5 separate regions of the Homo sapiens genome follow, and regions 1, 2, 4 and 5 are each linked to region 3. The links are contacts of gene promoters, found by promoter capture Hi-C in human tissues and cell types (Jung and others, 2019). All regions are on one chromosome and are shown on one strand. The core of a region is centred on a gene start or on the middle of the fragment in contact, and the rest is flanking DNA. Distances in the headings are between cores, read along the strand shown.

Region 1 (2,851 bases), core at 140-2,639, 450 kb before region 3:
GAGGGCAAGGAAGATGAGGACTCAAATATGTCCACTTGATTTCACCACATGGGGTTTACTTAGTGCATTGGATTGGTGAGGGTAGAAGTCACCTTGAAGTCATTTGAAGAGTGAATAAAAGACTAAAGAAATTGAGACAAGTACACAAAGTTTTATAGAAGTCCAGAGGGAGGGACCAACTCAGGCTGGGGAATTTAGAGAAGGCTCCTTAGAAGAGAGACATTGAGCTGGGTATTGAAGGAAGAGCAGCAGTTCACCAGACTGGAAATGGTGGTGGGAGCAGGGGGAGGTTATTCTAGGCAGAAAGTTCAATATGTTTAAAGACAATGAAACATGAAAAGACATGGAAAATATATGAGATGGTAGGAAATGTCCCTTTATTAGATTAGCTCTTATGGTTAGGTATTATGCATCCAACATACTCCTGTTAAAAATGTAAATTCCCCTGGAATTTTTACTTAATATTATGTTAGTGTAAGTGAATTTACCAAGTGGTCTCCAAGTGTCAGCCTACTAAAAGCAGAGCCTCACAGGCTTTGGAAAAAAGACAGATATGTTGTGACACAGGAAAGGCAGTTCAGGGCACGGTACTTGTTTTGCATGAGGAGGTAGACCTGCATGGGGAACCACGGGAGAGGGCAGCCCCAGGCAGCCAGGAAATACAGTGAGTTGTGTGCCTGGGGTGAGTGTAGTGAATTTTGCTCACTTCAAAATTATTTTTCAAGTCAGATCTGGCAAAATGTTTTCTCTTGAGAAAACCAGTCCTCACCAGTATAAATTTGTAGTTAAGTTTATGTCTAGAATCTTTGGATTTGGCAGTTTCCAGATCAAAGATTTCCATGGTTCAAAGGATCTATGTCCCTAAAAGTAAGTTATACCACTGATGTTAGTTTTGATTCCCTTAACATTTATATTTTTGGCACAATGAAAGGTAGATCAACAGTAATTATAAAATAAATGCTATTAACGTAAATGAAGTTTATGTTAACATTGTGATGAATAAGCAGTAAGAAAGCAAATGCTTTGAGAGAATACTTATGTCCAACACCAGTGGAGCTGTAAGCTTTCTTGATATGTTGGTACAGTAAAGGAAAGAAAGGAGTAAAACATGACAAAAATTATCCAAGTTTGTGGTAATGCCATTGACCAAGATTGGAAATAGAAGAAGTTGAGGGAGTGAGAGGTGGGAAAATGGTGGGGAAGATAGATGGAGAAATAATTGACTCTGTTTTTAAGATTCCGAATTAGATGTGAGATATCCAAATGAAGATGTTCACCAGGTGTTGACTATGTGAACTGGATCTAAGGATGGAGGAAATCACATCAAGAGCGCATTGGGAAGTGTCTCATGTTTTACTGGGACTTATGAGGGGTTTGCCCATTCAATTAATTTCTTTATCTTCTGTAGTTTGTGACCAGAGTTCTGGACCATGACTATCTCTACTTAGGAGGTAAATGTGTATTCTTCTTAGGCTCATAATCAGATATTTCCATTTATCTCCAAAAGTTGTTACATAAGTTCTTCCTTACTCCCTTCTCTAAGGCATCATATAACTTTAAAAGTTTTATAATTAATTCATTTATTTGATAAATTTTTTTTGGGCACCTTCTCTGTGCCAGACATTGTGTTAAACACTAAAGATACAAAGCTGATCAAGACACTTCATGTCCTCAAAGAAGGCCTGGTACGGGGAAACAAACAGGTTACAGAGGAAATGACAGAGTCATATATAGGGTACAGCAGGGGTTCCAAAAAGATCTTATCAGTTCTTTCTGGGGAGGCCTGGCAAGGCTTCAAAAGGGATATGAAGCTTGAACTAAGTAATGCAAGATGAGCAGACATTCACCAGGCAAACAGCATTAGGAAATGGGGTTGCAGATAACACATTTTAGACAGAAGGAGCACAGGTACAGGGATATAAAGCAGGATACCTCTGGGGAATTGGGTATAGCTCAATGGGGCTAACAGGAAGGGTGTGGGAGTGGTGGGCTGGGTCAGACAATGTCATTCTTTAAAGTTTGGACTTTGTAATGAGAGTCTGTAATGGAGAGCCCTGAAGGGTTCCAAGAGTAGGTCTGTTTTAGAAAGATCCCTATGGCAGCAGTGTGAAGGGTGGATTGGAGAGGAGTAAGACGAGAAGCAATGAGGCTACTTCAGAAAATGAATGATCTGAGCAAGACCAAAAGCCGCAGTGAAGTTAGAGGGAAAACATTAAAAGGATAGAGGGCTCAGGAGAGACAGAATGAGTGCCTGAACCTGAGCCCTACCATGACTTGATCATTAATTGGAATAAGCACAGGTATAGTAAAGGAAAGAAAGGAGTAAAACATGACAAAAATTACCCAAGTTTCTGGTAATGCCGGTGACCAAGATGGGAAATAGAAGTTGAGGGAGTAGGAGGTAGGAACATGGTAGGGAGGATGGATGAAGAAACAACTGACTCTGTTTTCAATATTCTGAATTGGAATGAGGTATCCAAATGAAGATGTCCACCAGGCATTGACTATGTGACCTGGAGCTAAGGATGAAGGAAATTGCATCAAGGGCACATATCTAAAGAAGTATTCACTTGGGACAAAAGAAAGGATATTACTTCTTCTGAGGTCCGAAGGAATGAGGTAAAATGGATACAGATATAGGTAAACATTTAAATATGAGAGCAGAAAGTTGAATGATTTATGTTTGATGGCCTTAATTATTTCTATGAAGTAGAGTTTAGGTCATCTGCTTAGAAAGGGAGTAAATTGGTCTTGGGTGGCACTTAAAACACTTAAGTGGTAAAAGTATAGAATGGTCATTTGGACAATGGGAAAAGCAGTTGATCATAGATTTGTAAAAATAATGTAGAGT
Region 2 (3,074 bases), core at 177-2,676, 400 kb before region 3:
GCAAAGCAGAGATCGCACCACTGCACTCCAGCCTGGGAGACAGTGGGAGACTCCGTCTCAAAAAAAAAAAGTCCATACTCTATGATTCCATGTCTATAAAATAAAGAGGAGAAACTAATCTATGCGAATAGAAGTCAGGATAGCAATATTCTTGTGAGCAGAATAGTGACTGTAAAATAAGACTGGGGGTTTCTCAGGGTCTGGAAGAATTCTATTTCTTGATCTGAGTGCTGATTTCACATATTTATTCAGTAGGGTTGTGACAAAGACAAAGCAAGCAAGATGTCCAGGGGGCAAAATGTAAGGAGGTCCTTACTCTTGGCACCTGAGATCTTCCTTAAAATATGCTCCCTAGGCACCTTGCTTGCATCACCCTCATCCCAGCTCTAGTGTTCAGTTTGTGAATATTTATTGAGCTGTATCACTGATACATATGTTTTACTGTATGTTTATTATTCTTGAATTTAAAAGTGTTAAGAAAGTCTGGTCTATTTCACTCCATAAATGAAAATAAACTTTAAGTGGATTATAAACCTAAATGTAAAAAGAAAAGCATTAAAACTTTTAGAATAAAATATGAGAATATTATTAATGACCTTAGGTAGAGGATTTCTTAAGGATATCCAAAAGCACATATTAAAGGAAAAGATTAGACTATATTAAAATTAAAAACTTACATTGCTCAAAAGACCTCTTAAAGAAAGTGAAAGATGAGCCAGGCACAGTGGCTCATGCCTGTAATCCCAGCACTTTGGGAGGCTGAGGCGGACGGATCACCTGAGGTCGGGAGTTCAAGACCACCCTGACCAACATGGAGAAACCCTGTCTCTACTAAAAATACAAAATTAGCTGGGTGTGGTGGCACATGCCTGTAATCCCAGCTACTCAGGAGGCTGAGGCGGGAGAATCACTTGAACCCAGGAGAAAGAAGGTTACCGTGAGCTGAGATTGTGCCATTGCACTCAGGCCTGCTGGGCAACAAGAGGAAACTCTGTCTCAAAAAAAAAAAAAAAAAAAAAAAAAAGAAAAGAAAAAGAAAGTGAAAAGATGAGCCACAAACATGAAAAAAATATTGCAACATAAATGAGTGAAAAAGAATTATTACTAAGCACATATTTTTTAAACCATTGAGGAAAAGATAAATAACCTGAGAGACAAATGCATGAAAGACATGAACAGCTATTTAATATGAGCAAAATAGGATGGCCAAAGAAAAGATGCACAAACACACAAATAATCAGAGAAATTCAAATTAACATCATGAGGCATTACCATTTCATATCTAGCAGACTGGCAGGAAACATAAACCCTGACAATAAGTGTTGGCAAGAATGTAGGGTACTCTCCTTCACTGGGGGTAGCGAGTAAGTTGGTACGACCACTTTGGAAAACAGTTTTGCTTTACCTAATATAGTTGAAAATACACAAGCCTAGAACTGTTTCATATATTCCCAAGAGACACTCTTTGACAGGTGTACCAGGAGGTATGTACATGAATGTTTATAGCAATTAAAAAGAATGTCTATCAAGAGTAGAAAACTCTACAGCAGTGAAAATGAAAGAACAATAACACAATGGCTAAATCTCAACTTTGAAGTTCAAGCAAAAGAAAATTAAAGGAGAATACTCAGAGTATGATTACTTTGATATACAAATTTAAAACGAGTAGATGTACTCATCCATGGCAAAACTATAAAGAAGAGCAAGGAAAGGTTATCATGAAGGTCAGGAGAGTGGTTACCTTCAGAGGGCGTGCAATGAGGAAGGGACACGTGGTGGCTTCTAAGGGAGTAGCAATGTTCTACATCTTAGCCTAAATGGAGGACATATGGATGTTCTCATTATTCTTTAAACTGTACATATTTTTATGTAGTCTATTATATGTATATCTCAAAATAAAATTTTTAAAAGAAATAAAGATTCTACATATGTATACACATGTATGTATGTGTGTGTGTGTGTGTGTGTGTGTGTGTGTGTGTGTTCCATGTATTCCATGAAGGAAAACAAAAAGGAATCCTTAGTGGGAAAGTGACAGTAACCACTTTACTAGACTTACTAAATTCTCTCATATGTTTGGCTGGCTGAGAGAGAAACTTCAATCAACTAAGTTTACCACAAAGTCCATATAATACATATAGTTTCAACTAAATGTATGCTTGAGAAGGATTATCACATTTCTTATTTAATCTATTAGTTGAACTATGCGTTCTTAGGTTGTCCTGCTTTCATTTGATTAAAAAAAAAAAAGAAAGAAATTCTTAATTAAAAGGTAAAAATCTAACCAGGTGTGGTGTAATCCTAGCACTTTGAGAGGCCAAGGCAGGAGGATCACTGGAGCCCAGGAGTTCAAGATCAGCCTGGACAACATAGGGAGACCCTGTCTCTAAAAAAAATAAAAAATAAGCTGGGTGTGGTGGCGCACACCTATGGTTTCAGCTACACTGGAGGCTGAGCTGAAAGGATTACTTGGGCCCAGAAGGTCAAGGCTGCAGTGAGCTGTGATCAACTACTGCACTCCAGCACTCAAGCCTGGACAACAGAGCAAGACTCTTTCCCTAAATAAATAAATAAATAAATAAATAAATAAATAAATACCTAGCTGAGGCCCAGTGTGGTGTCTCATACCTGTAATCCCAGCACTTTGGGAGGTCAAAGTGAAAGGATTGCTTGAGCCCAGGAGTTTAAGACCAGCCCTGGTAACAGTGAGACCCTTGTCTCTACAAAAAATTAAAAAATAAAAAATTAGCCAGGTGTGGTGGCATGTGCCTATAGTCCCAGCTACTCGAGAGGCTGAGGTAGGAGGATTCCTTGGCAAGCTGAGGCACCAGTGAGTCATGGTTGCACCACTGTACTTCAGCCTGGGCAACAGAGCGAGACCCTGTCTCAAAAACAACAAGAACAACAACAAAAAAAACTAGCTGAAACATTCTTTTCTTAACCTTCATTTTTTTTCCCCTTTCTATGTTAGCTATATCTTCCTTGGGTGAAATTGGAAGAGGAAAATTGCACCAAAATCCAAAGTCATTTTTATGTCTAACATCGAGAAAGCACTAAAAATTTAAAAACAATCT
Region 3 (3,070 bases), core at 490-2,989:
CAGAGGCTGCCTTCTCTCTCTGGATCTTCCCCCGACCCATTCTGACTCCTCTAAGATCTGCCCTCACCCTGGGCCTGGGTTGAGGGAGGACCTCCCTCCATGGCTTCCCCTGGGCTCCCACCATCCTCCCTGACTGTGCTGGTCTTGGCTGCACCCTCCCAGGCCCTAATGAGCCTCCAGATCTCAGAGACCCCTGGATCCAAGGTACCCCGAGAGGCCCATCCTCTGGGTGAGCTCAGCCCCTTGCAACAGCAGACATGCAGATCCCAGGAGGCCGTGACCCCCATCAGCCCAGATCCCCCACTCCACTCCATATGGGGGCTCCAGGAGGTCTGGGGGGAGGGGAAACCTCAGCACCTCCCCCAGCCCAGCAGGGAAGGAGCTGGGCGGGCCCCAGGGGTCTCACTGCTCCTCAGGACACACTGTCCCGGACCCCTGCCCCTGCCCTCTGCTCTGACCTCGCCCAGCCAGCGGCCTGCCATCCCCCTGCGAGTCTGAGAGGCAGGGGGAACGGGGTGGGGGCGGGTTTGGGTCCTGGCCTCTCTGCCTTTCCCTTCCAGGCTTGGCTATCGCGACTTAGCCGCCCAGTCCGGCCACTTGTTGTCGCCACCGCCTCCCGGGCCGCCTTCCCGGCGCGCCGGGCTGGGGGTCCCCGCAGGGCTGCAGGGAAGGGGCTACGGCCGCAGGTGGGGACGGGGGCGGCCCCGCAGCGGGCAAGAGCAGGGCAGTCGCCCTCTCCCCTTCTGCTGCTGCCCGAGCAGATTGAATTTTTAAAGCGACACGAGCGGAATGTCAATGCGAGCAGAGAGCCGCGGGCGGGCGCCGCGGAGGGGATCAGGATGCGGGTGCTCCGGCCGGGCCGGCGCTGGGGGCTCAGCGCGGACCCCCGCCCCAGTCCGCCGCGTTGCCGCACCGTCACCGCCGACTGCGCGGCCCCGTGACCCCGCTGCGGGGCCCGGCAAGTTTCCGCAGCGCTGGGGACCACGCGGGCAGGGGCTGGGCCGCTCTCCGCCTGAGCGACCCCCACCGCGGCGCCCCGGGGTGCGGACAGGTCTTGCCGCGGGGCACAGCTGCTAGCTGGGGCGCCCACCTGGCAACCGGCACCTGCGGACCGCCCCCCGCCCCCCGCCCCCGCGCCCCTGGCCCGCGCTTCACCTGGGCGCACAGGTAGGAGGGCCGCCGGGGCGGGGATCCCGGCGGACACTCACCCTCCAGCTCGTCCTCCGGGATGTCCACCGGGCGCTGCTCCGACAGCAGGTTGGGCACGGTGTAGATGCCCCGGTACATCAACGCCGCCGTCACCGGGTGGAACGGCATCTTGGAGGCTCCGCGCCCGCCCGCCCGCCGCAAACTTTGAGGCCGGGGCTCATGGGCCGGTGGCGGCCCCGGGGGCGGCTGGAGCGGGCGGGGCGCGCGGCTGCGGAGGGCGGCGGCGGCAGCGGCGAGGCTGGGGACGCCCCTCCGGGGGCCTAGCGCCCCCGCGCCCCGGGCCGCCGGGCCATGCCGCCCGCTCCCTCGTCGGGCTCCCAGCCGGGGCCCCGCAGGGGCAGCGGGGGCGGCGCCGCTCTGGCCTTTCCGAGAGCTCCGGCTGCCTCGCGCGGTGCCCGCCGCGCCCGCTCCTCGGTGCCCCGCGCGCTCCGCGCTGCTCGCCGCCCGCTAGTCCGCTCGCCGGCGCGGCCGCTACCGGCCCGGCGCTCAGGCTGTAGCCGCCTCTCCGCTCGCTCGCTCGCTCGTTCTGTGCCGCGCTGGCTGCGCTCCCCGCCTCCCCCGCCAGCCGCCCGCCCGCCCCCTCCGCGCTCCCCACCCCCAGCCCGCCCCTTCCCGCCGCCGGCCCCTGAGCGGCCGCCCCAAACCTGCCCGGGGCTCCTTCTCCCCTTCGGCCCCGATTCCCCTTTCCCACTAGGGCTCCCCTCTGTTCACTGGCTCTCCTCACCCTAAGTCTGCAGCCACCAGGACCAGGGAGGGGGTGGGTTGCGGGGGTCCTCCTTCCTGCCCCTTGGCTCACCTTCCCCCATCCACGCACCAGGAGCGGAGAGCCCGGAACTAAGAACTGTAGACCCAGAGAGGTGAGACTGGCCCCAAGCACCTGGGTCCTCAAGAAGAGTCACCGTTTCCGTGCCAGGAGGATCCAAGGTGGGGAAACTGAGGCTGAGAGAGAAGGACGTTGACCAAGGTCACAGGGCAGGAGCAGCAGGTAAGAGCTGGGTACACGTCTGGGGTAGGCTTCCTGCCCTGCCTGTGACTGACACCCTGCCGCTGACCTTGCTCCCCACAATGGGGCCCCAGTCCCGGACCCTTCCCAAGCCCCTACCTTTCAGCTTGCAGAAGAGGAGCCAAAGTGTCTCATGGCCCCCAGGGCAGTTCGGGACAGAGACATGGCCCGGTGCCTGTGGGGTCTGGTGTGAGGGCCTGCCAGTTCACATGGCTGCAGCTCAGACCTAATGTATGTGCAGGGCTTCCCCAGGCCCCAGGGCACGTCGGCACCCCAGAGCTGGGGTGGGGGCAGGTGTTTGAGGGAGCAGCCTGCGTGTGCATATGTCTGCTATCCATGAGGGTGTGTATGTGCCACTGGGCACGTGCGCAGGTGTCTGTGACTCCATATGCAGATGGACAAATGTCGGGAGTGTGTGGCCACCTGTGTGTGCCAAGGTTGTACGCTGGCAGGTCGGGGGAGGTGTGCAGGCCCTGGGGCTGGGAGTGGTGTGGGCATATGGTGCACAGATGTGCATGGGAGGGGGTGACCTTCTGGCCTGGCTGTGGCCCCATCTCTGGGTGCTTCCCTGAATCCCCCTACTGGGACCACCTCCCTGCCCCCTTTGGCCCAATCAGCTAAAGGTCCCAGCAGGAACGCTGATTGCACAGCCCTGCCCGGTCCTGCCCTGCCCTTCCCAAGCTGATTACACTTTTCTGCTTGTTTCTGTTTTTGTTACTGATTAATCGCAGCCTTGTCTCAGGGTCTGGGGAGAAGGGGCTCAGTGAGAGATGCTAGCCCCAGCCAAGCGGGGTTGGGTCAGCCTGGGCCCAGCACTTCCTGGGCCCTGCTCTGGAGGGAGCTCCTAGAAACATCTAT
Region 4 (3,147 bases), core at 407-2,906, 310 kb before region 3:
ACGGTTTCCAGAGGTGGCTGCTCCCTTTTCTGGGCTGTGAATCATCCTGTCCGTGGAGAGGGACTAGCTCAGGCTGCTTGACCCAGGGAGTGACCTCTCAGCTCCTCGGGGGGATGCTGCTGCTCCAAAAGTAAGGGGGCAGGGAGAGTTCAAGCCCAACCCCCTTCCTCCCAACCCAACTAGGACTCCTCTCCAGGGGTCAGTGGCAACTGTCGAGAGGCACACCATTCTCATGGTTTCCATTTCCGTCTCCTCATCCCAGTAATAGAGGCTGGCAAGCTGACATCTTACTGTCTTTCCAAAACTAGGAGTCTCTAGTTAGGCGGTAATAAGGCAGCAGCTAGCTAGCTAGCTTATTACTGAATCAGATGAAAGAGAACAGAAAGAATCAGACCACCCCCAAGGGGCCAGGGGATGCAGTTTATGTCCCAAGGGCTGACAGGGACTTCTAAAGAGGGAGCTGCCCTGGTACACATTGTATGCCAGCACTTTCTGGGGGACTTGAAAGAACCTCCAGTTCTAAGGCTTGATCTTCCAGCTGGCAAAGTGCAGCAACCACTTACTACAAACTCATGTCTATTTGAACTCGGATGACATGGCCTTAAATATGTTGGGCAACCTTGGGCTCCTCTGTCATTGGAGAGGGTGGGGAGGGCCATCTGAACGCAAGGCCTCCACTTCCTCTTCCAACCTTGGGCTCTGGGATTTATTCTTAAAGAGATGCTAAGAGCACCATAGCCTGGACCCAGGCCTCTGTGATGCAGAGGCGAGGTCCACCTGGCTCCACCTTCCCCACTTCTCAGCCTGCGAAGCTAGTCTGCATCTTCTGGCTTCGTCTTTAGTCTTGAACAACTTAAACTCATCAGTTTAACAAAGTGAGGTCCTGTCTGTCTTTGCAGGATTGTTGCCATGGCAGGACTCAGGCGTTCTTAGATGCTGCCTCAACCCCAACAAGCAGTTTCTCTCCACACTCCCTTCCCATTGGCTCCATACACTCTTAAAGCATCGGTGCACATGCAGACCACCATCTGTTTACAAAATGTTAATTTAAAAACAAAACACATATATAAGGCCAGGCACGGTGGCTCACGCCTGTAATCCTAGCACTTTGGGAGGCTGAGGCGGGCATTTCACCTGACGTCAGGAGTTCAACCAGCCTGGCCAACATGGTGAAACCCTATCTCTACAAAAATACAAAAATTAGCTGGGCATGATGGTGGGTGCCTGTAATTCCAGCTACTCAAGAGGCTGAGGCGGGAGAATCACTTGAATCTGGGAAGCGGAGGTTGCAGCGAGTCGAGATCGCGCCACTGCACTCCAGCCTGGGTAACAAAGTGAGACTCTGTCTCAAAATAAATAAAACTAAAACACATATATGAACTTTAGTTTGTCTTCTTCAGCTAGTGATTCATTTGTAACTTAGTGCAAAACTCAGATTGGAATGCTTCAAAGTCAAATGTTTTCCCCTGTAAGGTGGAAGCGAGAGCAGGGTCTAGTTTCAACACACAGTGGAATAGAAGTGCTGCCTGGCTCTGATTGATTGTTCCAAATGCCTGCTAGAAGCCAGAGACAGAAATGCTATCATCTATCTATCTCATTTCATGGGACAGTGGGGAGGACAGCATTTGCTAGGCCCCCACCTTCCCACTCCATTTATATGCCATGTGCTCTGCTACAGATGAGGAAATGTCTCCGAGTTCCTCATACACCCATGAGCAACTCAGCTGGTGCTGCAGGGCTAGGATCCCACCCCAGGTCTGTGGGCTCTAAAACACAGGGGCTTTCCACCAAACTGGTGATTTTCAAACCAACTTTTGTGGCACTGCCTCAGGAGAATTTGTCCTGATATTAATAAATAATGTCCTGATAAATATTAATAACCGTCTTTTAAACTATATACACCCAAAGGTTTAAAACACATTCAGTGAGGCTGCTTGAGACTTCACTGTACAGTCTGTATTGCTGTGTGTGTGTGTGTGGCCTTTGCAGGGGTCACTGACTGGGAGGGCACCAGCTTAGTGCTGTGATCATTAGGCCCAGGGCCAACTCAGACCTGGTGGCCCTGAGCATAAAGTAATTTTAGTGCTTATAAATCTTTGGGTGTCTCTCATCTGATATATGGATGATAAAGACTGAAAGCAGGTTTTGGATATTCTTCTATTAATCCCTTTTTTCAGGCATGTACTTCAGTTTTGTCAACAAGAGATTGCAGGCAAGCTGTGACTACTACCATTTGCAACCGCTTACCTATAAAACTCAAATTTTTTAAAATTAAACTCCCCCATATTATATAACAACTAAAACAAAATCCAGAAATTGGATGCTGGGACAGTTCACAGTGAACCTATCATCTGCACTAATGAAAAATGCTCCCTCCCCAAGCCCACTGATTTTAAGATGTTATGACTTAAACTGTGATGATTCATGCTAATAACATATCATTTGTTTTTATGTATTTGAAAAGTTAAAAACAAAAACACTGGATTAGACTATCACAACATTTTGATTTTGGTTAAGAGGGAGAGAAGGGCTCATAATTCAAGCCTTGTGATGGCAATTGCCTAAGCTCCTCGCTGAGATTTCAACGAGAACCAATACAGCTATTTACATCAGGCTTTCTGGAGGCCCAAGAGCACAAGAAGAGGGTTAGGAGTCGGGAAAGTATTTTCCTTTTTTTATGGGACAGGGTCTCCCTCTGTTGCCCAGGCTGGAGTGCAGTGGCGTGATCATGGCTCACCACAGCCTGAAACTCCTAGGCTCAAGAGATCCTCCCACCTTAGGCTCCCAAGTAGCTGGGACTACAGGTGTGCACCACCATTCCTGACTAGTTTATTCATATTTTTTGTAGAGACAGGTTTATTTATATTTTTCGTAGAGATGGGTCTCAACATATTGCCCAGGCTGGTCTTGAACTCTTGGGCTCAAGTGATCCTCCCACCTCGGCCTCCCAAAGTGCTGGGATTACAGGCATGAACCACTGTGCCTGGCCAAGAATGACTTTTATTCAAATTTTGCTGTTAACTCATTGGTAATCTGGATGTCTTTGGCCCTCTCTGAGTCTCAGTTTCCTCAATGAAAAAGGAGGAGATTGGATTAGTGATTTTCAGACTTTTTATTTTAAGAAACAAACAAAACCTTTCTTCATAC
Region 5 (2,945 bases), core at 129-2,628, 330 kb before region 3:
AGTCTCCTCTCCTCACCCACAGTCCCTGGCAACCATTGATGTTTCCTGTCCCTATAGTTTTGCCTTTTCTAGAATGTCATATAAGTGGAATCATATGGTATGTACTCCTTTGTGTTTGCCTTTTTTTTTTTTCAACTGACCACAGTGCTTTTGAGATTCATCCATGTTGTTGCATGTATCACTTGTTTGTTCCTTTCCATTGCTGGGTAGCTTTCCATTATGTGGATGGGCCACAATTTGTTTATCCATGCACCAGTTGTTAGACTTTTGGATTGTTTCTAGTTTAGGGCTACTTTGAATTAGGCTACTATGAGCATTCACATTCGGGTGTTTGTATGGATATGCTTTCATTTCTCTTGGATAAATACCTAAAAATAGGATTGCTATGTCAAATGGACGAGTATGTTTATAAGAGATTGCCTATTGTTTTTCCAAATGGCTTTACCATTTTGTATTTCTACCAGCAATGTATGAGATTTCCAATTGTTACTCATGCTCATCACCACTTAGTATTATCGATCTTTTCTTTTTCTTTTTCTTTTTTTTTTTTCCAAGACAGAGTCTCACTCTGTCGCCCAGGCTGGAGTGCAGTGGTGAGCTCAGCTCACTGCAACCTCTGCCTCCCGGGTTTAAGCAACTCTCCTGCCTCAGCCTCCCAAGTGGCTGGGATTACAGGCATGTGCTACCACACCTGGCTAATTTTTGTATTGTTAGTAGAGATGGGGTTTCACCATGTTGTCCAGGCTGGTCTCGAACTCCTGGCCTCAGGTGACCCGCCCACCTTAGCCTCCCAAAGTGCTGGGATTACAGGCATGAGCCACCACGCCTGGCCTTTGTTTCGTTTTTTGTTTGTTTGTTTGTTTTTGAGACACAGTTTCACTCTGTCACCCAGGCTGGAGTGTAGTGTTGCAATCTCAGCTTAATGCAAACTCCACCTCCTGGGTTCAAGTGATTCTTGTGCCTCAGCCTCTCGAGTAGCTGAGATTACAGGAGTGTACCACCATGCCCGGCTAATTTTTGTATTATTAGTAGAGACGGGGCTTCACCATGTTTGCCGGGTTGGTCTCAAACTCCTGAGCTCAAGTGATCCACCCATCTCGGCCTCCCAAAGTGCTGGGATTACAGGTGTGAGCCACTGCACCTGGCCAGCAGTTTCTTATAAAGCCAACTATAGGACCCAGCAATTCCACATCCAGGAATATGCTCAAGAAAAATTAGTTTATATGTCCACCAAAAGTCTTATACAAGAATATTCATAGCCACTTAATTACTAATAGCCAAAAACTTGACAAAATCCAAATATCCATCAAGAAAAACATAGAACAGTTTGTGATATAATCAGAGAATGGAATATCACCAGCAATAATAAAAGTAAAAAAATGTTGTAATATGCAGAACAGCATGGATGAATCTCAAAAACTTTATGCTGAGATTAAAAAAAAAAAAGCCAAACAAAAAAGTATATGATTCCATTCATATGACATTCAAAATCAAGCAAAACTAATCTATGGTGGTAGAAATCAGAATAATGGTTACCTCCGGAGGACTAGGTATTGATTCAATAAGGTGCAAGGGTCCTTCCAGGGTGAAGGAAATGGTCTGTATGTTGAAGTGGGTGAAGGTTTCATGGTGTATACATACGTAAAAATTAATTGAGTTGTACATTTAAGACTTGTGCATTTTACTGTATATAAATTATACCTCACTTTTAAAACACTTTTAATAAAAAAAATTACTATGGACCCCTAAAAATCCTGTGTTTATTTAACAGCTATCACATTTTATCATATTAGCAAGGCACAGTGGCTCAAACCTCTAATCCCAGCACTTTGGAAGGCTGAAGCAGGAGGATCACTTGAGCGCAGGAATTCCAGACCAGCCTATCAACATAGTGAAAGCCCATCTCTACAAAAAATGTAAAAATTAGCTAAGCACGAAGGTGTGTGCCTATACTCCCAGCTGGTCACAAGGCTGAGGCAGGAGAATCACTTGAGCCCAGGGGTTTGAGACTGCAGTGAGTTCTGATCACACCACTGCACTTTAGCCTGAGTGACAGAGTAAGACCCTGTTTAAAAAAAAAAAAAAAATTACCATATTATAAATTGAAATGGACAAACTTTATTTTTATTTTATTTTATTTTTTTGAGATAGAGTCTTGCTCTTTCACCCAGGCTGGAGTGCAGTGGCGCGATCTCAGCTCACTGCAATCTCCGCCTCCTAGTCTCAAGCAATTCTCCTGCCTCAGCCTCCCAAGTAGCTGGGATTACAGGCGTGTGGCACCACACCTGGCTGATTTTTGCATTTTTAGTAGAGACAGGGTTTTGCATGTTGGCCAGGCTGGTCTTGAACTCCTGACCTCAAGTAATCCACTCACCTTGGCCTCCCAACGTGCTGGGATTACAGGTGTGAGCCACCACACCCAGCCCAAAATAGAGAAACTTTAAAATATTTAACTCATTTAGAAATAACACTAATAAACTCATTACACATTAACATAACATTTAAATGAAAAATAACTACATTGTCTAAAACAAAACGATAATGGGAAGAATGTCATTGTTTTACATCTTTGTAAATTTCTTTAATGTCTGGCTCAAAAGAAGACAGCTGGATTCTTAAATCAACTTCTGCATTTAATTTTTTAAGCTCTCACATGTCACTCAGTGTTTGGAAACTCCACTGTATACTTGAAAGAGAAAGCAAATGAAAAGACAAATAACGGGTTATTATTATTATTATTATTTTCCTTTTTTTTTTTTGAGATGGAGTCTCGCTCTGTCACCCAGGCTGGAGTGCAGTGGCACAATCTCAGCTCACTACAAGCTGTCCTCCCAGGTTCAAGTTATTCTCCTGCCTCAGCCTCCCTAGTAGCTGGAACTACAGGCGCCCGCCACCACGCCTGGCTAATTTTCATGTTTTGAGTAGAGATGAGGTGTCACCATGTT

Evidence for each region. Contacts are between HindIII fragments. The study calls those that stand out against the background at their distance.
Region 1: a fragment that was not itself captured here is called in contact with the fragment with the promoter of CABP7 in region 3 in 4 of the 25 tissues and cell types used here (IMR-90 fibroblasts, mesendoderm cells, spleen and 1 more).
Region 2: a fragment that was not itself captured here is called in contact with the fragment with the promoter of CABP7 in region 3 in 4 of the 25 tissues and cell types used here (bladder, dorsolateral prefrontal cortex, lymphoblastoid cells and 1 more).
Region 4: a fragment that was not itself captured here is called in contact with the fragment with the promoter of CABP7 in region 3 in 7 of the 25 tissues and cell types used here (IMR-90 fibroblasts, dorsolateral prefrontal cortex, hippocampus and 4 more).
Region 5: a fragment that was not itself captured here is called in contact with the fragment with the promoter of CABP7 in region 3 in 4 of the 25 tissues and cell types used here (IMR-90 fibroblasts, lymphoblastoid cells, mesenchymal stem cells and 1 more).

Annotation. Positions count from the first base shown.
Region 1 is chr22:30,168,101-30,170,951 of GRCh38, reverse strand. All of the region lies in intron 10 of HORMAD2 (HORMA domain containing 2), which reads right to left. Among named protein-coding and RNA genes, the nearest start is that of LIF-AS1, 70 kb to the left of the region's middle. The HindIII fragment of the contact is 4,667 bases long and covers 1-2,851 here.
Region 2 is chr22:30,123,167-30,126,240 of GRCh38, reverse strand. All of the region lies in intron 10 of HORMAD2 (HORMA domain containing 2), which reads right to left. Among named protein-coding and RNA genes, the nearest start is that of HORMAD2, 44 kb to the right of the region's middle. The HindIII fragment of the contact is 8,876 bases long and covers 1-3,074 here.
Region 3 is chr22:29,718,672-29,721,741 of GRCh38, reverse strand. It overlaps CABP7 (calcium binding protein 7), which reads right to left and starts at 1,739. Exons shown (of 5, transcript NM_182527.3): 1 at 1,209-1,739. The coding sequence starts at 1,317. It overlaps CABP7-DT (CABP7 divergent transcript), which reads left to right and starts at 1,839. Exons shown (of 3, transcript NR_186695.1): 1 at 1,839-2,194. RefSeq lists an enhancer at 1-430. The HindIII fragment of the contact is 29,567 bases long and covers 1-3,070 here.
Region 4 is chr22:30,030,815-30,033,961 of GRCh38, reverse strand. The region is part of intron 3 of HORMAD2-AS1 (HORMAD2 and MTMR3 antisense RNA 1); the gene reads left to right. MTMR3 (myotubularin related protein 3) reads right to left here. Exons shown (of 20, transcript NM_021090.4): 20 at 3,094-3,147. Among named protein-coding and RNA genes, the nearest start is that of MIR6818, 25 kb to the right of the region's middle. The HindIII fragment of the contact is 4,791 bases long and covers 1-3,147 here.
Region 5 is chr22:30,050,944-30,053,888 of GRCh38, reverse strand. The region is part of intron 1 of HORMAD2-AS1 (HORMAD2 and MTMR3 antisense RNA 1); the gene reads left to right. Among named protein-coding and RNA genes, the nearest start is that of HORMAD2-AS1, 28 kb to the left of the region's middle. The HindIII fragment of the contact is 4,537 bases long and covers 1-2,945 here.